4 separate regions of the Homo sapiens genome follow, and regions 1, 2 and 3 are each linked to region 4. Evidence: promoter capture Hi-C in 16 types of primary human blood cells and fetal thymus (Javierre and others, 2016). All regions are on one chromosome and are shown on one strand. The core of a region is centred on a gene start or on the middle of the fragment in contact, and the rest is flanking DNA. Distances in the headings are between cores, read along the strand shown. Region 1 overlaps CBL (Cbl proto-oncogene). Region 2 overlaps HINFP (histone H4 transcription factor). Region 3 holds the start of HMBS (hydroxymethylbilane synthase). Region 4 holds the start of BUD13 (BUD13 spliceosome associated protein).

Region 1 (5,011 bases), core at 381-2,880, 2.5 Mb after region 4:
GGGAAAAGTAAGTCTCAGAATAATGAATTTGAACTATGAAAAACTAAAGCTTACGAGTTTTTTCTTTACTTTTTTACTAATGAAATATTTAAAATTTGGGAACTCTGAGAAAAGTAATATATGTGTATGTATTTCCTGGCTTTGGTTAAATATTAAGTTTTTGCTCTGTTCATTGTTTTTAAAAAATAGTTTTGCAGATTAAATTGAAACCCATGCTCTTTGAATACTCTTCCCTTTCTCTCCCCATCCATTGTGGTTTCTTTTTGAGACGGAGTCTTGCTCTGTTGCCCAGGCTGGAGTGCAGTGGTGCGATCTCCACTTACTGCAAGCTCTGCCTCCTGGGTTCATGCCATTCTCCTGCCTCAGCCTCCTGAGTCGCTGGGACTATAGGTGCCTGCCACCACGCCCGGCTAATTTTTTGCATTTTTAATAGAGACAGGGTTTCACCACGTCAGCCAGGATGGTCTCGACTTCTGACCTCGTGATCCACCTGCTTCGGCATCCCAAAGTGCTGGGATTACAGGCGTGAGCCACCATGCCCAGCCCCATTCTGCTCTTAATGGACATGTACATTTCACATTATTTGCTATCAGCAGTGAGCAATATCTAAGTTGTCTTCATATGCAAGAAATTGTCTTTATTTACATACGCAGGAGTGGAATTGCTAAGTCTTGGGGTTTTACATCTTTTGCTTTGCTAAGTATTGTCCAATTTCTTTCCAAAATGGTGTACCAGTTCATATTTTACAGTAGCCCCACAGTTTGGCTAACGCTGGCGATGTGAATTGGTGTAATATTTTGCTTTATATTCCCTGATGAGAAGGGAGATTGAGCTTCTTCTCACCTTTATGACCAGTCAAGATTCTTATTCTTACTTGCCTGTTCCTATTTCTGATTTACCCATTTTCTTATTGAGTGGTTTATCTTTCTGTTATTATAGGTTACTAGTTCTTTGTTAGATACTTACATTACAAATATCTTCTCCCAGTCTGTGGCTTACCTTTTCCGTTTTGCTGTATTGTCTCTCTATATATTATATAGGTTGATTTATGCATCAAGCTTGTATTTTTAAGTATAAATATAAATATCCTAGGTTTTGTCGTTTTATTTTTTTTTTTTTTTGAGACAGGATGTCACTCTCTTGCCTAGTCTGGTGTGCAGTGGTACAATCAATCATAGCTCATCGCAGCCTCAAACTCTTGGATTCAAGCAGTTCTCCCAAGTAGCTGGGACTACACGTGTGTGCTGCCAGGCCCAGCTAATTTGCAGAGACAGGATTTTGCTGTGTTACCCAGGCTGGTCTCGAAGTCCTGGCCTCAAATAATCTTTCCCCCTGGCCTCTCAAAGTACTAGGATTACAAGCGTGAGCCACTGTGTTAGGCCCAAGTTTCTCTTTAAAGGCCTTCATTTTTGGCCAGGCACAGTGGCTCACTCCTGTAGTCCCAGCACTTTAGGTGGCCAAGGCAGGAGGATTTCTTGAGGCCAGAAGTTTGAGACTACTACCCTGGATGACATTACAAGACCTGGTCTTTATTTGTAAATTATTTTTTATTTTTCTTTTCTTGTTTTGCAGCAAGGTTTCACTCTGTTGCCCAGGCTGTAGTGCAGTGGCACGATCTCACTTGCAACCTCTGCCTCCAAAGTTCAAGTGATTTTCCCCCCTCAGCCTCCAGAGTAGCTGGAACTAATTAGTCTGGCTAATTTTGTTTGTTTGTTTGTTTTTGTAGAGACAAAGTTTCACCATATTGCCCAGTCTGGGCTCAAGCAGTCTGCCCACTTTGGCCTCTCAAAGTGCTGGGCCTCCCAAAGGCATGCACCATGGCTCCTGGTCCCCTTCTTTCTTTTCTTAAAGAAGTTGACCTGTATTTTGAATTACGAGAATTGAAATTGGTATTGAGAGCTTAATGTGGCTCTCCTTCCTTTCCTTGATTATGGCGATGCCTGGAATTATCTCTGTTATTTCACTTTATGCCTCCTCTCCACCCCCTCCCCAGGACAATAGTCCCTTGGAAGAGCTTTCGACAGGCTCTACATGAAGTGCATCCCATCAGTTCTGGGCTGGAGGCCATGGCTCTGAAATCCACTATTGATCTGACCTGCAATGATTATATTTCGGTTTTTGAATTTGACATCTTTACCCGACTCTTTCAGGTAGGACACTAAAAAAGTTGACTAAACTGGTTACTGCTACTTCGGTGAAGAGAAAGCTTTTTTTTTTTTTTTTTAAATAACATTTGGGGTTTTTGTCTGTATGAAAGTATTTTAATTCATTTTAGGAACTATGCCAAAAAAAAGATTAAAACTATCTCATATTAAAAATATATGTATGTGTGTGTATGTATATATAGTGAAAATGACAGCTATACCAACTGCTTTCTTCTCCTCACATCTTTCCTTGTTATTGAATATTCTTCTTTTGTATCATTTTAATGTTTGTAGAATGGCCAGAATATGAATATATTAGTTTTCTGATATTGGATATTTGTGTATGTTTGCAACTGTTTCTCCTGTTTTATTGAAATTGACTGTTAATATTGAGATGTTTAGATGCTTCAAAAACAACTCCTTTCTTTTTCTCTAAAAATAATGCTTTCTCTGGTGTTGTCTGTGCCAATTTGCATACACATTTATTTGGAACTTATTAGTTGCACCTATAGGCCCTATCCTGGTTTTCAGTTTGTTGTTGTTCAACCCCACTACTGTTAATTAGAGCTGCTTTACAAATTCTAGAATTTTCATTTTGTGTCAAGTTTCTCCCTATAAGCATATATTCTTTTCTTCGTAGCTTTTCAGAGTTTTTAATCTCCTGAACACATGTGTCTTCTCTCTGAGTGATGGTATAATTAAAAATTTCTGACAATGAACTGAGAGTTGGTGTTGTTTTTTTTTTTTCTCATTGCCCTCTGAGTTGGTTGTACATCTGACCTGAATAGTCTGTGATTGATCTTGTTTCTTTAGCCCTGGTCCTCTTTGCTCAGGAATTGGAACAGCCTTGCTGTAACTCATCCTGGCTACATGGCTTTTTTGACGTATGACGAAGTGAAAGCTCGGCTCCAGAAATTCATTCACAAACCTGGCAGGTCAGTTCAATGACGCAAAGAGATTTATTCTTCTGAATTTCGTTATCTTGAGACTTCTGCTAGTATAGAAGAAACATGACCTTAATTAGTTTCGCAATAGCCAAGGTTCTGCAATAGGATTGATACCTGTTTATCAGACGTATTGACTTAATTCAGATCCTATAATTTGATAAATGTTTTCAGGCCACTTAAGAATTGAATTTATGGCCGGGCACAGTGGCTCACGCCTGTCATCCCAGCACTTTGGGAGGCCGAGGCGGGCAGATCACGAGGTCAGGAGTTTGAGACCAGCCTGGCCAAAGTGGTAAAACCCTGTCTCTACTAAAAATACAAAAATTATCCAGGTGTGGTGCGGGTGCCTGTAATCCCAGCTACTCAGGAGGCTGAGGCAGGAGAATCACTTGAACCTGGGAGGTGGAGGTTGCAGTGAGCCGAGATCATGTCATTGCACTCTAGCCTGGGCAATAAGAGCGAAACCCCATCTCAAAAACAACAAAAACAAAAAAAGAATAGAGTTTATGTGTCTTTTGCTTCTGGTGTGGAGTCATGGAAGAAGTTACTCTCTTTTTAAAAATATTTTCTTTCTTTTTTCTTGTCACTGACTTGAAGCTCAGAAGTAGTTATTCTTGGCTGGGTGTGGTGGCTCACACCTGTAATCCCAGCACTTTGGGAGGCCAAGGTGGGCAGATACTTGAGATCAGAAGTTTAAGACTGGCCTGGCCAACATGGCGAAACCCCATCTCTACTAAAAATACAAAAATTAGCCAGGTGTGGTGGCACATACTGTAGTCCCAGCTACTCAGGAGGCTGAGGCAGGAGAATCATTTGAACCCAGGAGGTGGAGGCTGCAGTGAGCTGAGATTGTGCCACTGCACTCTAGCCTGGGTGACAGAGCCAGACTCCATCTTAAAAAAAGAAAGAAAGAAAGGAAGAAAGTTATTGTTATTCTTGATGGTTCTTTTGATTTTTGTCTGTATCTTGCCTTGCCTTCCACCGTAATACCAGCATAATCTACTAAAGCTTCTGTTTATGTCTGTTCATAGTTATATCTTCCGGCTGAGCTGTACTCGTCTGGGTCAGTGGGCTATTGGGTATGTTACTGCTGATGGGAACATTCTCCAGACAATCCCTCACAATAAACCTCTCTTCCAAGCACTGATTGATGGCTTCAGGGAAGGCTTGTGAGTACCTACTGCATACCATCTGTTAGAGTCTGGGAACTTAGGGGCTGTCCAACCTCATCATTAATGACTTTATTCCAGGTTTCTTAAACTGCAGACTAAGATTCAGGAAAATATTAACAGATGATATTGATTTGACCTTCAGGTCCTGGAAGACTTTTGTTTTTCTTTTTTAGGGATTCCATGAGTGAAATTATTCTCTACCACTTCAGTTATTACCATAAATAAACTTTATCTTTCTTTTTTCCAAATGTTAACTTATTTTCAAGCCTGTGTTAGGTTTTAAAATATACCAATTAGCAGGAAATTTGACCAGTTATTTAACTAGTCGGCATTCAAGTGATTCAATGTTCCTAATAGCCATAGGCCTCAGTGGCCTTCATCTGCTTTCATCCTCACTTCGCTTTTGTTCAGCAGCATTTCTTCAGGCCTTGGGCTACTGTAACCTATGCTGCTATTTATAACTAAGTCCTTATTTATTCCAGAATTGCTATTCCTTTGAGAATTCAAATTAATTATCAGTTGGTAAACACTTAAAAATACTAACAGTTGACCAGATGGCAGAAAACTAGCTTGTGTTTTGAAGTGATTAGGAAAATACATTTTATATTATACATTATCTTTTACTTACAATAGCATTGGGACTGAAAGGAGTGCTGCCCCAAATGTCAGAACAGTTTGATGCTAGAAACTGTGGATCTCCCTGGTAGATGATCTCAGTAGCTTAATTTGCATATTGTTACATTGCTTT
Region 2 (5,287 bases), core at 1,774-4,273, 2.4 Mb after region 4:
GGAGGAGCTCAAGGAAAGGTGGAAAATCTGACTTTCTTTTCCTTAGAGGGAGAAGGCGGCCTAAGAGAATGGTGGTTTATTTTCCTAATTGTGTTTTTGTTGTATATAAAAACATTGTAAACTCATTTATAGAAAACTCAGTCAACAAGGATATAAGGAATAAATCTGCCATCCTGCCATCAAGAAGTAATTGCTGACAGTACTTTAGTGAACATTGTTTTTGACATCTCTCTGCCTGTGTTTACATATATTTAAATACAGATGAATGTGCTTTTTTTTAATCATTCTGTACAAGTTGTTGGCAACCTGTGTTTTGTTGTTGTGTTTTTTTTTTTTTTTTTTTTACTCTTCTAGTATTCCCAATTTTTTTTTTCTTTTACTGCAACCAGTCAGAAATACATCTTACTTTTTAGAGACAGGGCTTCATCTTGTCACCCAGGTTGGAGTCCAGTGTCATGATCATAGCTCACTGCAGCCTTCAACACTCAAGGGATCCTCCTGCCTCAACCTCCCGAGTAGTTAGGACTGCAGGCATGTACCACCACCACACGCCAATTTTTAAAAAAATTTTTTTTAGAGACAGGATCTTGCTTATGTTGCCCACTGATCTCAAACTCCTGGCCTCGAGCAATCCTCCTACCTTAGCCTCCTAAGTAGCTGGGACTATTGGCTTGTGCCACCAAGTCCAACCCCACTCCCACCTTCCAATTTTTTTTTTTTTTTTTGAGACGGAGTCTTGCTCTGTTGCCAGGTTGGAGTGCAATGGTTCGATCTCGGCTCACTGCAGCCTTTGCCTCCCAGGTTCAAGCAATTCTCCTGCCTCAGCCTCTTGTAGCTGGGACTACAGGCGCGCGCCACCACGCCCAACTAATTTTTGTACTTTTAGTAGAGATGGGGTTTCACCATGTTGGCCAGGATGGTCTCAATCTCTTGATCTCATGATCCGCCCACCTCGGCCTCCCAAAGTGCTGGGATTACAGGCGTGAGCCACCGCACCTGGCCCCATCTCTCACTTTTTAACCTTTGTCTGACTTATGTTTTAGGTATGCCTTTTATCAATAGCAAATAACTGGGATTTTAATAAAATCCAATCTGAAAACAATAACAATAGTGAACTGTATTCTATAGTACCTACTGTGTGTTAAGTATTGCTGGGTACTTTATTTTTTTTTTGAGATGGAGTCTCATTCTTGTTGCCCAGGCTGTAGTGCAGTGGTGCAATCTCGGCTCACTGCAACCTCTGCCTCCTCGGTTCAAGCGATTCTTCTGCCTCAGCCTCCCGAGTAGCTGGGATTACAGGTGCGTGCCACTACGCCCGTCTAATTTTTTTTTGTATTTTTAGTAGAGACAGGCTTTCACCATGTTAGCCAGGATGCCCCTGTTGGCCAGCCTGGTCTTGAACTCCTGACCTCAGGTGATCCGCCCGCCTCAGCCTCCCAAAGTGCTGGGATTATAGACGTGAGCCACCATGCCCGGCCAGTACTTTTTTAAACCTACATTAAAGCACTATTTCCCAAAGAGCCTATGAGATAGGCACTATTATTATTATTATTTATTATTATTATTTTTAGATGGAGTCTTGCTCTGTCGCCAGGCTGGAGTGTGGTGGTGCGATCTCAGCTCACTGCAACCTCCACCTCCCAGGTTCAAGCAATTCTACTGCCTCAGCCTCCCGAGTAGCTGGGATTACAGGCACATGCCACTATGCCCAGCTAATTTTTTTTTGTATTTTTAGTAGAGACGGGGTTTCACTGTGTTAGCCAGGATGGGATAGGCACTATTATTATACCCATTTTACAAATAAGGAAACGGAGGCACAGAGGAATAAAATAACTTGCCCAAAGTCACGGTACTAATAAGTGTGGCAGGATTTAAAAGAAAAAGGAAAAAAAAAACTTTTTTTCAGAGTAAGATGGAGTCTTACTCTGTTGCTCAGGCTAGAGTGCAATGGCATGATCTCGGCTAATTGCAACCTCCGCCTCCCGGGTTCAAGTGATTCTCCTGCTTCAGCCTCCCAAGTAGCTGAGATTACAGGTGCCCGCCACCACGCCCGGGTAATTTTTGTATTTTTAGTAGAGACAGGATTTCACCATATTGGCCAGGCTGGTCCCAAACTCCTGACCTTGTGATCTGCCTGCCTCGGCCTCCCAAAGTGTTGGGATTACAGGCGTGAGCCACTGCGCCCGACCAAAGCCACTTTTTTTTTAGAGACAGAGTCTTGCTATGTTACCAGGTTGATCTTAAACTCTTGGCCTCAAGTGATCCTCCTGCCTCAGCATGCTGAGCAGCTGGGACTATAAGCATAAGCCACTGCATCTGGCAGGAATACATTTTTCTTTTCTTTTTTTTTTTTTTTGTGGGAGTGCAGTGGCTCGATCTCCGCTCACTGCAAGGTCCGCCTCCCGGGTTCATGCCACTCTCCTGCCTCAGCCTCCCAAATAGCTGGGACTACAGGCGCCCACCACCAAGCCCAGCTAATTTTTTTTTGTATTTTTTAGTAGAGACGGGGTTTGACTGTGTTAGCCAGGATGGTCTCGATCTCCTGACCTCGTGATCTGTCTGCCTCGGCCTCCCAAAGTGCTGGGATTACAGGCGTGAGCCACCGCACCCGGCCCAAAATGTGGTTGATAGTTCACTGAACTGATTTCCTAACCCACTAGTGGGTCACAACACAGTCTGAAAAACTCTATTCTACAGGAAATATGGAGGCAGCTCTCCTTCTCCCACCCCAAATTCTGTTTTAAGTCTGATGACTATGAACCATAATTGATAGTTTCAAAATTCAAGTCATATTTATACAAAGGCAAAATTGGGGAATGATTATATTTTCTAAAGTATCTGTGTTTCAAAACAAGTTAACTTATATAAAGCGCTGAAAATACAGTGCTTAGGGATGCTAGAGAGATAGGAAATGGATTGGAAGAGTTGATGGGGCCTTCTTGGAGAAGGCAGATCTTGAGCAAAACATGAGGGGAAGGAGGAGTGGTGGTTTTACAAGGAGAAGTGGGAGGTGTCAGATCGAGAGGCAGCATCTTCATCAGGAACTGCAGAAACTCAAGTCAGAGGACTTGCGTGCCGGCCATTTCTGCTGTCTGTTTCTGGCATAGGCCTTGCACACACTCTCACCTCTGCCTAGACCACACTTCTTCACCTATTTACAGATACTCATCCATCGTACTTCAGAGTTCAACATGGGGACGTTTCTCAGAACACCATGTCAAATGACCTCTGTTTAATGCTTTTATAGCACCATGTATATCCCCGCTTTGTAACACTCATCACTGGTTGCAGTTTTATATTTATAGATCTGATTATTTGATGAATATGCTTTCTCCCTGACTGAAAGCTATGTGAGGGCAAGGAGTGGGACACTTTTTACTTGTTATAGTCCCTCTAACTGGCACACAATTTATGGTCATTAAATACTGGTATTTGCTAAATGAACCCTGGTAATTTGGTTAGAGTCCAGCCTCCTCACGAGTCCAGCCTCCTCACTCTCTGTTTAGTGCTGCAGGTGGAAGGTGACCTGAGCCTTGGAAAGTGTCAGACTCTTCCTTTTAAACCCCTTTCTACAGAGGAAGAATTCTCCTGCTTGTGGCAGGAATGTGGCTTTTGTTCTCTGGACAGTTCTGCTGACCTCATCCGCCATGTCTACTTCCACTGCTACCACACCAAGCTGAAACAGTGGGGGCTGCAGGCCTTGCAAAGCCAGGCTGACCTTGGCCCCTGCATCCTGGACTTCCAGAGCCGGAACGTCATCCCTGATATCCCTGACCACTTCCTGTGTCTGTGGGAGCACTGTGAGGTCAGCAGGCAGTGCCAGTAATTGGGGTGGAAGGAAGCTGGGGGTCTTAACTCTGATGCCTTGTCCCTTTCAGGGATGCCTTATATTTCCAAGATTCCTGCTAGTATCTCTCTTCCATTTCTTTTGCTCTTTTAAAATTTGTTTATTTTTTACACACAGGCTCTTGATCTGAAGCCCAGGCTAGAGTGCAGTGGTACAATCATAGCTCACTGTAACCTTGAACTCCTGGGCTCAAGCAATCCTCCCACCTCAGCCTCCCAAGTAGCTAGGACTACAGGCATGTACCACCATGCCCTGCTAACTTCTAAATTTTTTGTAGAGACAAGGTCTGGGTGTGTTGCCCAGGCCGGTCTCGAACTCTTGGCCTCAAGTGATTCTCCTGCCTCAGCCTCTCAAAGTGCTGGGATTACAGGGTTTAGCAACCGCACCCGGCCACTCCTCCATTTCTGTGCAGTGCCTTTCCTCAAAATTTCCCATCCCCATCAAGTTAATTTGGGAGAGAGCCAAGAATTCTTCGGGCACATAGGGGTGAGTCCCTCTACCCACCCTCAGTCCTCACCCCAAGTTGCCCCTGGCACAGAATTCCTTCGACAATCCTGAGTGGTTTTATCGGCATGTGGAAGCACACAGTCTGTGCTGTGAATACGAAGCAGTCGGCAAGGACAACCCGGTGGTGCTGTGTGGCTGGAAAGGTAGGGCTGCTTCTTAACTTGTGGCTTCTGGAGGAAACGCTGGGGTTCCTGAAGAGCTGGGACAGAAAGGGATAGGGGTCCTACAGGGGCAAGGTTGACTGCCGGCTGGAGAGACTCAGGGGTACCAGATCCTAGGCAAAACTGGGGTTTTGTGGCAGGAGACTGATAGGGCTTCCTTCCCAGGCTGTACCTGCACCTTCAAGGACCGCAGTAAACTTCGAGAGCACCTCCGCAGCCATACCCAGGAGAAAGTGGTAGCCTGCCCCACCTGTGGGGGCATGTTTGCCAACAATACCAAGTTCTTAGATCACATCCGTCGCCAGACCTCATTGGATCGTAAGTAGTCAGAGGAAGTGGGGTGGATGCAGGCTGTCCTGCTTGGAATGGGTTAGGGGCATGTTTCTAGTGGGGGTGGCCACTGAAGAGACCTGCCTTTTGGCTGCCTCTTCTTTTTGGGCTCAGGCACCTCCCATAGTCTCTTTGCTGATTCAGATTCGTAGGCATTGTTATTCAGTACTTACTGTACCTCGTATCAGTTACTTAGGGAATCCTCACAACAGCCCCATGAGGTAGGCTTCTTATCCCCCTTTTTGCAGATGAGGAAACTGAGGCTCAGAGAGGTTAAATCACTTACCTGAGATCACACAGCTAGTAAGTGGTGAAGCTGGAATTCTAACTCAGGTTCTCTAAGTCCCATGCTCTTTCCATGATACTGTGTCCATTCATAGCTCCCTAAGCTCTCCTTTTCTCCTTGGGTGGTTCCCTTCTGCCTGGGATGGTTCCCCTCTCC
Region 3 (5,335 bases), core at 865-3,364, 2.3 Mb after region 4:
ACTCAGGAGGCTGAGGTGGGAGGATTGCTTGAGCCCAGGAAGTTGAGGCTGCAGTGAGCCTTGATCACACCACTGCACTCCAGCCTGGGTGACAGACACCCTGTCTCAAAAAGTAAAAAATTAAAAAACAGTGGCAGTATTGTAGCTGCTATGCTATGAGTAGACTTTGCATCTACTGAGCTGGGTTTGAATCCTAGTTGTGCTGTTTGACTTAAGGCACATCTTACCTTCTCAACATGTTTTTTTTTTTTTTTTGAGATGTATTTTTTTCAGTGGGTTTTTGGGGAACAGTTGGTATTTGGCTATGTGAATAAGTTCTTTAGTAGTGATTTCTGAGATTTGGTGCCCATCACCCAAGCAGTGTACACTGTACCCAATGTGTAGTCTCTTATCCCTCACCCTGCTCCCACCCTTTCCCCCTCAACCTGTGTCTTCATCTGTACGTTAGGGATTATAACACCTATGCTGTGTGGCTATTATGAAAGCCTAAGGATCAAATAGGTGTTCAGTTCTTTGTACAGTGCTGAGCACATGGGTGATTTTTTTTTTCTTCTTAAGACAGGGTCTCACCGGGCGCGGTGGCTCATGCTTGTATTCCCAGCACTCTGGGAGGCTGAGGTGGGCGGATCACCTGAGGTCAGGAGTTCAAGACCAGCCTGACCAACATGGTGAAACTCCGTCTCTACTAAAAATACAAAAACCAGCTGGGTGTGGTGGGAGGTGCCTGTAATCCTAGCTACTCAGGAGGGTGAGGCAGGAGAATTGCTTGAACCCGGGAGGTGGAGGTTGCGGTGAGCTGAGATTGCACCATTGCACTCCAGCCTGGGCAACAAGAGTGAAACTCCATCTCAAAAAAAAAAAAAAAAAAAAATGGGCGTCTCACTCTGTCATCCAGGCTAGAGTGCAGTGGCACCACCACAGCTCACAGCTACCTCGACCTCCTGGGCTCAAGCGATCCTCACACCTCAGCCTCCTGAATAGCTGGGACTACAGGTGTGTGCCGCCACACCTGGCTATTTTTGTATTTTTTGTGGAGATGAGGTTTTCACCATGTTGCCCAGGGTGGTCTCAAACTCCTGGGCTCAAGCAATCCTCCTGCCTTGGCTTCCTAAAGTGCTGGGAATATAGGTGTGAGCCACTGCACCTAGCTGGGTGATTATTAATAATCATGATTGTTAATTATGTTCATGATTACAGGCGCGGTGGCTCACGCCTGTACTCCCAGCACTTTGGGAGGCCGAGGTGGGCGAATCACCTGAGGTCAGGAGTTCAAGACCTGCCTGACTAACATGGAGAAACCTCATCTCTACCAAAAATACAAAATTAGCTGGGTGTGGTGGTGCGTGCCTGTAATCCCAGCTACTCGGGGGGCTGAGGCAGGAGAATTGCTTGAACCCGGGAGGCGGAGGTTGCAGTGAGCTGAGATCGTGCCATTGCATTCCAGCCTGGGCAACAAGAGCGAAACTCCGTCTCAAAAAAAAAAAAAAAATTATGTTCATGGGAAAGCACTTTTCCTAACAAGCCCTTTTCTCACTACATGTAGCGTTTGTGCTCCCACTTCAGTTACTTGTCTTTAGGCATGACCTTTAATCTCTCTGAACCAGTTTCCTCATTTTAAGAATTGAAATGCTGGCTGGGCCAGTGGCTCACGCCTGTAATCCCAGCACTTTGGGAGGCCAAGGCGAGATGACTGCTTGAGTCCAGGAGTTCGAGACTAGCCTGGGCAACATAGTGAGGCCACCTCCCCGCTGTCTCTATAAAAAAATCTAGAAATTAGTCCCACGTGGTGATGTGCGCCTGTAGTCCCAGCTGCTTGGGAGGCTGAGGTGGGGGGATCGCTGAAGCCGGGAGGTCAAGGCTGCAGTGACCCGTGGTCATGCCGCTGCACTCTAGTCTGGGGACACAGTGAGACCCCGTATCAAAAAGAAAAATGCTGCCTATTTCAAGGTTGTAGCAAAGCTAAGTTTGAACAGAGCAAAGGAAGCGCCATAGAAGCTGCACTACTTGCTCATGTCACAGCTGGGGAATGGGGTGGTCGAATGGGGAGGTCCACTGTCGCAATGTTCCAATTCCCGCCCAGAGGGAGGGACCTCCCCTTCGAGGGAGGGCGCCGGAAGTGACGCGAGGCTCTGCGGAGACCAGGAGTCAGACTGTAGGACGACCTCGGGTCCCACGTGTCCCCGGTACTCGCCGGCCGGAGCCCCCGGCTTCCCGGGGCCGGGGGACCTTAGCGGCACCCACACACAGCCTACTTTCCAAGCGGAGCCATGTCTGGTAACGGCAATGCGGCTGCAACGGCGGTGAGTGCTGAGCCGGTGACCAGCACACTTTGGGCTTCTGGACGAGCCGTGCAGCGATTGGCCCCAGGTTGCCATCCTCAGTCGTCTATTGGTCAGAACGGCTATCTTTTTTTTTTTTTTTTTTTTTTTTTTTTTGGTCCGAGTAGCTTTTAAAGGGCCAGTAGCTCGGTTGCCCTCCGGAAGGAATGGGGAAATCAGAGAGCGGTGATACTGGGTTAAGAGTGGAAGGATTGTTTGGAACGGAACTCCGGTCCCTGCGGGCATCTGGGTGGGATTCCCATCAGGCCTGGGATGCACGGCTCTAGATTTAGTGACCCAGACCAAGAACGTTCGTCTACACAGACGGGGTCCTTTCATTCGAGGCTGGGCTGAGGCGGATGCAGATACGGCCCCTTTGGGAAGACACGTTCCACTTTTGATTCATAGGAGAGAGTATCAGCCAAGCCTCCGAACTGCACACAAACGTCTTAGAAGTGCGCCTTCTTTTTGTGTTATAGTGGTCTCCCAGCCACAGCCAACGCTCCAAGTCCCCAGCTGTGACACACCTACTGAATTACTACCGTGGGTGGGAGGCCGCCGTGGGCCTTTCCATTACGAGCCTGCTTGCCGAGCCCTGGGCTTGTGCACAGACAAACTGCAGAGCTGGTGGAGGCCACTGCCAGGCCGAGATAAGAAAGAGATGGGGAGCTGCTAATCTCCCCCTGTCCAGCCTGTTGGTGAGGGCTGGGATCTTTGCTCTTGCAGTCATTCCAGAGCCCTGGACTAGGAGTAGGAAGATCTGAATTGTGGCCCCAACTCTCTTTCGGTTATTAGCTCTGTGACCCTAGGCAAGTCACCTCATCCCTTGATGCCACCCGTTGCTTCTGTAACATGGTCCCAAAGGTGCCTGTCTTGTCCACCTGATAGGATTTTTGAGACGACAACAATATGCAAAAGCAATAGCTTCAACATAGAAGTGCTCAGTGTTTTATTTTTTAATGAAACGGTTTGACTTGGATATGCTGTGCACATTCAATGAACTTAAGGAATTGTTTGAACCTAGTAGTTCTGGGACCTTAGAGTCCTTTCTGTGGGCTCCCTGTGGCCCAGAATTTTGGTGGCCACGTTTAATATCAAGCCTAGCCTAATTTGCAAAGGGTCTCCCAGGGTTAATTTATTGGAGTGATCACATGGAGTAGACCAGAGTCTGAGGGCAGAAAGCTGTCACCTGCTTCGGCAATAGAGGCCCCAGATGTCTGGGTGCAAAAGAACTCCATAGCACCCCGACCAACATGGTGAAACCCCGTCTCTACTAAAAATATAAAAATTAGGCCGGGCACAGTGGCTCATGCCTGTAATCCTAGCACTTTGGGAGGCCGAGGCAGGTGGATTGCCTGAGCTCAGGAGTTCGAGACCAGCCTAGGGAACACAGTGAAACCCCGTTTCTACTAAAAATACAAAAAATTAGCCGACGTGGTGGCATGCGCCTGTAGTCCCAGCTACTTGGGAGGCTAAGACAGGAGAATCGCTTGAACCTGGGAGGTGGAGGTTGCACTGAGCCGAGACCGCGCCATTGCACTCCAGCCTGGGTGACAGAGCGCGACTCCCCCTCAAAAAAAGAAAAAAAAAAAAAATATATATATATATATACACACACACACATATTTTAGCTGGGCATGGTGGTGTGCGTCTGTAGTAGTCCCAGCTACTTGGGAGGCTGAGTCAGGAGAATCGCTTGAACCTGGAAGGCAGTGGTTGTAGTTAGCTGAGAACATGCCACTGCACTCCAGCCTGGGCAACAGAGGGAGACTCTGTCTCAAAAAAAAAAAAAAAAGGAACTACATAGGATGAACATCCCAGATCAGGGAATGTTGACTGTCGACAGTATCAGTATCTACAGTGGCTACTGTCTGATGTAGAAAGAAATGGGATCAGGCTAGGCGTGGTGGCTCACGCCTGTAATCCCAGCACTTTGGGAGGCTGGGGCAGGAGGATCACAAGTTCGAGACCAGCCTGGCCAACACAGTGAAACCCCGTCTCTACTAAAAATGTGAAAATTAGCTGGGCATGGTGGAACATGCCTGTAGTTCCAGCTTGAACCCAGGGGTGGAGGTTGTAGTGAGCCTAGATCACGCCACTGCACTCCAGCCTGAGCAAAACAGTGAGACTCTGTCTAAAAAAAAAAAAAAAAAAAGAGAGAAATGGGACCTCCGTCTTAGACTGAAGAATTCAGTTCTACGTGCTTAGCAGTGAATACTTTTGTCCAAGGTACTCTGGCAGGAGGAAGAGGCGTGTCCTCTTGAGTTCTTGACTTGGGCTCTGGCCTGTTAATATTTCCATGTTGGTGAAACCAGAGGCAGCACTCTAGGTGCACGAACTTTAGGCAGCGCAGCCTCCTAGTCTTATGGAACATCTGAGGCAGAAGAAACCTGAGTCCAACCTTTTCATTTTATAGATGAACAAACAGATCCTGGTGGGACAGTGTACCCAAGGTCACCCAGCCAAGAGGCTGAGCAGGACTGTACGTCAGATCCGTTTACCTCAGTCCTTAATGCATGCAGTCCAGCCAGATTAAGGGACCCTTAATACTGTCAGCTTTCCCCACTGTGGGATCTTCATCCTCTTGACTTCTTTTGTAGCCAGACATCTGGGCCTCTTGCTGGAGAAGGTGGCAGCTTGCTGCTCTTAGACTCTAGTCTACTCCATGTGGCATCTGGATGGCACTGAAATTTTCTCAAGTGCCTTGTCTGTTGTAGATAATGAATCTATCCTCCAGTGACTCAGCACAGGTTCCCCAGTGTGGTCCTGGCTGCCCTGCCCCTGCCAGCTGCAGGCCCCACCCTTCCTGTGGCCAGGCTGATGGGCCTTATCTCTTTACCCACCTGGCTGTGCACAGCACTCCCACTGACAACTGCCTTGGTCAAGGTGGGCTTCAGGGCTCAGTGTCCTGGTTACTGCAGCGGCAGCAACAGCAGGTCCTACTATCGCCTCCCTCTAGTCTCTGCTTCTCTGGATCCCTGAGGAGGGCAGAAGGTACTGAGGAAGGTTAAAGGGAC
Region 4 (5,382 bases), core at 2,848-5,347:
CTGTAGTCCCAGCTACTCAGGAGGCTGAGGCAGGAGAATGGTGTGAACCCAGGAGGCAGAGCTTGCAGTGAGCCGAGATCATACCACTACACTCAAGCCTGGGCAACACGGTGAGACTCCGTCTCAAAAAAAAAAAAAAAAAAAGAATTTTGCTGGGAATTAATATTAAATACTCACTGGAATCCATCTTTACCAACTTTAGTGGAATTCAGCCTATCTACAGCTCTCCTTTCCACTTTGTTTCTCAGAAATTCTCAGCAATGGTTTCATGAACCACTGGGAGGTCATTTGCCTATGATTTTGTCCACCTGGCTCTTACTTACCCTTCAAAACTCAGTATTTACATCTTTCAGGATATCTCCCAACAGAATACAAAGTATGCTACCTCCCCGGGCTCTAATGGTACTTGGTACGTATGTGAAACATCCCCAACATTTACCATACTGTTGAAATTTATCTGAAATTCAGTTTTTCATTCTAGGGTATAATCTCTAAAATACAGCTATGTTCTATTAATCTACATATCTCCAGTACTTAGGCAAGAATATACAATTTGAAAGCTTAGTTAAAGCACTGAAAAAAGGAGCAAATAAAAAGTTCCCTATAACTGAACCTCAGCATTGTTTTTAAGAAAGATTCCAACAAAATGAACCACAGCTAAGTCTCATCATTACTCTAACACTGATGTCGAGAAGTCCTCTCTCTGTGATCCATCTCATTTCTAGGCTGATGGACCCTCCATAAAGAGACAAGTTGGTGTATAGGCATCAGCAAAGAAAACTATTTTAAACAGCTCTTTGGAAACTGTCACCTCTTTTCTGTTCTCAACTAACCCCCCTACAAATCTACCCTAAGCTGGAAAAATAAATTTGAGAAGCTTGGCCTGGCACAATGGCTCACGCCTGTAATCCCAGCACTTTGGGAGGCCAAGGTGGGTGGATCACCTGAGGTCATGAGTTCAAGACCAGCCTGGCCAACATGGTGAAACCCCATTTCTACAAAAATTAAAAAAAAAAAATTAGCCAGGCATGATGGCGGGTGCCTGTAATCCCAGCTACTCAGGAGGCTGAGGCAGGAGAATCATCTGAACCCGGGAGGCGGAGGTTGCAGTGAGCCAAGATCATGCCATTGCACTCCAGCTTGGGTGACAGAGCGAGACTCCGTCTCAAAAAAAAAAAAAAAAAGGAAATTGAGAAGCTTGCTTCATTTCAAAATCCTGACAGCCCCAAAGATACATACCACAGGCAAATCTCCATCATCTTCCTCTTCCTCCTTTTCTAGTTTGGTTGTGGAGATAGCTGTCCAGCTCACATCATCATCCACAATCCGCATTCTAAATGAGAATAAGAAGATCAAAAAGAGTCATTCTAGGATACCAGCATAAAAACATTTATCTATTGGTTTTAAAATAAAGTTCAAAATCCTACAGGATCCTGCATGGTCCAGTCTTTGTCTACAAGGTCAACTTCATCTCCTACTGCTACTTCCTTGGTTGAACACCTCCCTGGTCATCCTTTGGTGCTTAGAAAGGAGCCAAGTTCCTATCACATCAGTTTTCACATATGCAGTTCCTTCCCTCTGCCTGATCTACTCTTTTCAATCTTTTTCTTTTTTTTTTTTTTTGAGACGGAGTCTCGCTCTGTTGCCCAGGCTGGAGTGCAGTGGCACGATCTCAGCTCACTGCAAGCTCTGCCTCCCGGGTTCACACCATTCTCCTGCCTCAGCCTCCTGAGTAGCTGGGACTACAGGCGACCACTGCCACGCCTGGCTAATTTTTTGTATTTTTAGTAGAGACGGGGTTTCACCGTGTTAGTCAGGATGGTCTCGATCTCCTGACCTCGTGATCCGCCCGCCTTGGCCTCCCAAAGTGCTGGGATTATAGGCGTGAGCCACCGCGCCCGGCCCTAGTCTTTTTCTTTTTTGAGACAGGGTCTCACACTGCTGCCCAGGCTGGAGTGCAGGGACACCATCATGGCTCCCTGCAGCCTTGACTTCCCGGGGTTAAGTTATTCTCCCTACTCAGTCTCCCAAGTAGCTGGGACTACAGGCATGTGCCACTGTGCCTGACTACTTTTTTGTATTTTTTGTAGAAACAGGGTTTCACCATGTTGCCCAGACTGGTCTCAAACTCCTAGATGCAAGCAATCCACCCGCCTTGGCCTCCCAAAGTGCTAGGAAACTCTTTCTCATTCCAGGAAACTCTTCCTCATTCTTCAGGTCCTAACACAAATTTAACTTCCTTTGGCAAACTTTTCTTGACTGCTTCACCCAATTCCCTCACCATCCCACACTCACTCAAGACTAAGAACCCTTGTTAAAAACTCTTGGAATACTTTCATTGCATTTATCATAAAGAAAATATATCGATTAGTTGTGTAATTAGTTGCTTAAAGCCTGTATTCCCATTAATCTATAAGCTCCACAAGAACAGGGACTATGTTTTTTTTGTTCACAGAGGCATCCTCAACACCCTACAGTAACTGGAATACGAAATATTCAATAAATGTTTGTTACGTGGATAAACTATATAGCTGAGCCCAAATAATAACAATGACTGCCATGATGTGAAGTTATTCAAAAAGCCAGGGTCACTTAATGCAATCCCTCTAATCACAACCACCACTTAATAAAACCATTATTATTATTATTCTCATTTTAAAGATAAGGAAACTGCAGCTCAGTGAGATGAAACACCTTGCCCAAGGGTACACAGCCTATAAAGTGGCACAGCTAGGATTCGAACTCTGACCAGTGCTGCTCCAACACTCAAGCTACTTTCATCACATGGCACTGCCTCCAAAGGATCCACACAAGTCAGCGAGGCAGAAAGACGAAGACAATAATAAGGCAAGCACCAAACCAGAAAAGAACTTGGACTAGTTCTTTAGAACAATGTGACTTCACTGGGTATCTCAGTGCCTTAGGGTTACTGTAACAAAGTACCACAAATTGCGTGGCATAAAACAACAGAAACTCTCTCGCAGTTCTGGAAGCTAGCAATCTGAAATCCAGGTGTCTGCAAGGCCATCCTCCCTGGAAAGTCTCTAGCAGAGAATCTTTCCTTGCCTCTCCCAGCTTCTGGTAGCCCCAAGCATACCTTGGCTTTTGGCAACATAAATCCAATCCAATCTCAGCCTTCATCTAGACATGGTCGTTTTTCCTTTGTTGCTGTGTCTGTATCCATACTTCCCTCTTTTTAAAAGGCAAACAGTCATCTTGGATTTGGCACCCACCTTAATCAAGTATGACCTCATCTTAACTGATTACATCTCCAAAGACCCTATTTCTAAATGTCACATTCTGTGGTTCTGGGTGGAAAACGATTTGGTAGGGCCCACTACACTGGGCCACAAAGTTGTCCCATATGAAAATAATACCCACTTCATGGTAGTGTGGTGAGGCTTAAATAAACTTATATATGTTTAAATTTCTTATAATGGTGCCTGGCAAGAAAAGTATAACTATATAAATGTTAGCTTCTCACGTTAGGACTATTACTAAGAGTAACAGGAGGTGATCAAAGGTCTCTGATTCAGAACCAAGTCCTTGGGATCTGGGAATCCCCACAGGCAGGTACCGGGCCCTAAAGATCCAAGCACAGAGGCTTTGAATCCGCTCCATTATTCTCGAGGCACAATATTCATTCTCTATGGGAGAGGACGGAAGTCTACCAAGGCGGGAAAAGAGTAATCAAAGTTACACCCCGGCTTTAACGCACTGACGCTACTGCTCAGAGGCTCGAGATGTAAGCGGGGCGGCAGAGGCAAGGCGGGGGGCCTCAAGCGATGTGAGTGGGGCCCTGAGCATGAGCAGGGGTCGGCGGAGAAGCCGAGAGACCCGCCAAGAGGGAAGGAACTGCCGGGCGGCCGAGGGCGGAGTTGGGAAGGGGTGGCTAGACGTCGCAGGCCCCGCCCCGGCCGGTACCAACTCACCCCTTGCCGCCGGCCCCGCCAGGCTTCGGCCGCTTTTTGCGACGCTTGCGACCGGACTCAGATCCCCGGTCGACGCCGGCATCTGCCCCGGACAAGTAACGCTTCAGATACTCGGCCTTGGAAAGCGGCGGAGCTGCCGCCATGGCAGCGGCGGGGGCAGAGAGACGGGTCGGCGCTGGGGACAAAATGCCTCAACGCGTAACGGACGCCAGCCACCCGACAGGGCGGGGCCACGGCCGGAAGTGGCGGAGAGTGCTAAGAATCGCGCGGCTGGCAGGTGCGGCCACCGGGACGCGCTCGCAGGCTAGCCAGGGACGTGCGCACCTTCGGGGCGCTCCACAGCCCTGGGACGACGCCACCAGGTTTCTTCTCTTCATTCACTCACCCACCCACCCACCCATCCATCCAACCGCAGCAAGCGCTGTTCTATGAGGCCACAACCTGACCCAAAGGACCCCGCCCCCATCGGCCGCCTAAACTCCAGAGCACGAGCAAGAAAGTGGAGGGCCACGGGCTGCAGCGTAGCCGAGTTTGAATACTGGTTCCATAGCTGGCTAGCTGTACGACCTCGGGCAAGTTATCACAAAACAGGGAGAATCCCGGCACCTAACTCGGAACGGTCACAGGCTGAGATGATATTACTGTGTGAAGTGCGCAGAGCGGTGTTGGGCACATGGTCATCGGAACTATGTTCGTTATTTTTATAAGTATCTTTAAGTGGGGGGAATCTGCTCCACTAGGCTTCCAGGTACCTACCGTCCAAGAAAGGAAGCCAGGAAGTGCAAACCAACATAATTACTATGAAAAACGTAGTTTCTAAGACCTGTGTAACTCTTCTAGTGTTCTATTACAAGTAGCCCCCAGTTATCTCTTGAAGGAAACTGTAAAACAATCTTGCCAATGAGAAGGACGGACCTGGATCATTTTTTAGCATAGTAAAAGAGAGAAACCAGAGAGAATGAATTCTAACACTCAAGTTTTGGGGGGAAAGAAAAGACTTTATTCTTTGCAGGGGGTTTAGAGCTTTACCTGAATTATCTCATTTAACCCTCACAATTCTCAAATCGTTTCATTATCATATTTTACAGATAAGAACTGAAGCGTGGCAAGATTAAGGAAGTTGCTCAACTTCACATAGTCAGAACATGACTCTAGGGAGTAGAGGCTAGCGAAGTGGGGTGCAAGAGGTCATCCAAATTTCTTGAAATACCAGATCTTTTTACCTCATCATATATGTTAGATTGTCAGTTTTATCGTTTTCTTCCCAGCTTTATTATTTGACAAAAAATTATATATATTCAAGGTGTACAATGTGATGACTGGATATAATTATACATTGTGTAATGATTACCAAAATCAAATTAAGTAAAACATCCTTCACTAATTTATGTAGTAGTTCGGTGGGGGGGCACTTAAGCAAATTTGTCTTAGCAAACTTCAAGTAAACAAT

The links. Contacts are between HindIII fragments. The CHiCAGO score rates a contact against its expected background, and 5 or more counts as called.
Region 1: a contact is called between a fragment that was not itself captured here and the fragment with the promoter of BUD13 in region 4, in 1 of 17 cell types (monocytes). The highest score is 5.6, in monocytes.
Region 2: a contact is called between a fragment that was not itself captured here and the fragment with the promoter of BUD13 in region 4, in 1 of 17 cell types (monocytes). The highest score is 8.3, in monocytes.
Region 3: the fragment with the promoter of HMBS here is called in contact with the fragment with the promoter of BUD13 in region 4 in 1 of 17 cell types (monocytes); the score reaches 6.4 in monocytes.

What each region holds. Positions count from the first base shown.
Region 1 is chr11:119,271,875-119,276,885 of GRCh38, forward strand. It overlaps CBL (Cbl proto-oncogene), which reads left to right. Exons shown (of 16, transcript NM_005188.4): 3 at 1-7; 4 at 1,994-2,150; 5 at 2,958-3,079; 6 at 4,123-4,260. Among named protein-coding and RNA genes, the nearest start is that of MIR6756, 39 kb to the right of the region's middle. The HindIII fragment of the contact is 1,148 bases long and covers 1,057-2,204 here.
Region 2 is chr11:119,127,150-119,132,436 of GRCh38, forward strand. It overlaps HINFP (histone H4 transcription factor), which reads left to right. Exons shown (of 10, transcript NM_198971.3): 3 at 3,576-3,805; 4 at 4,386-4,497; 5 at 4,681-4,833. Among named protein-coding and RNA genes, the nearest start is that of HINFP, 8.2 kb to the left of the region's middle. The HindIII fragment of the contact is 7,014 bases long and covers 1-5,287 here.
Region 3 is chr11:119,082,767-119,088,101 of GRCh38, forward strand. It overlaps HMBS (hydroxymethylbilane synthase), which reads left to right and starts at 2,115. Exons shown (of 14, transcript NM_000190.4): 1 at 2,115-2,300. The coding sequence starts at 2,268. RefSeq lists enhancers at 1,716-2,413, 2,343-2,392. The HindIII fragment of the contact is 13,649 bases long and covers 1-5,335 here.
Region 4 is chr11:116,768,890-116,774,271 of GRCh38, forward strand. BUD13 (BUD13 spliceosome associated protein) reads right to left here and starts at 4,098. Exons shown (of 10, transcript NM_032725.4): 1 at 3,933-4,098; 2 at 1,240-1,333. The coding sequence starts at 4,075. It overlaps ZPR1 (ZPR1 zinc finger), which reads right to left. Exons shown (of 14, transcript NM_003904.5): 14 at 4,910-5,382. BUD13-DT (BUD13 divergent transcript) reads left to right here and starts at 4,582. Exons shown (of 2, transcript NR_186226.1): 1 at 4,582-4,622; 2 at 5,021-5,316. RefSeq lists a silencer at 4,237-4,436 and an enhancer at 4,557-4,646. The HindIII fragment of the contact is 6,866 bases long and covers 1,196-5,382 here.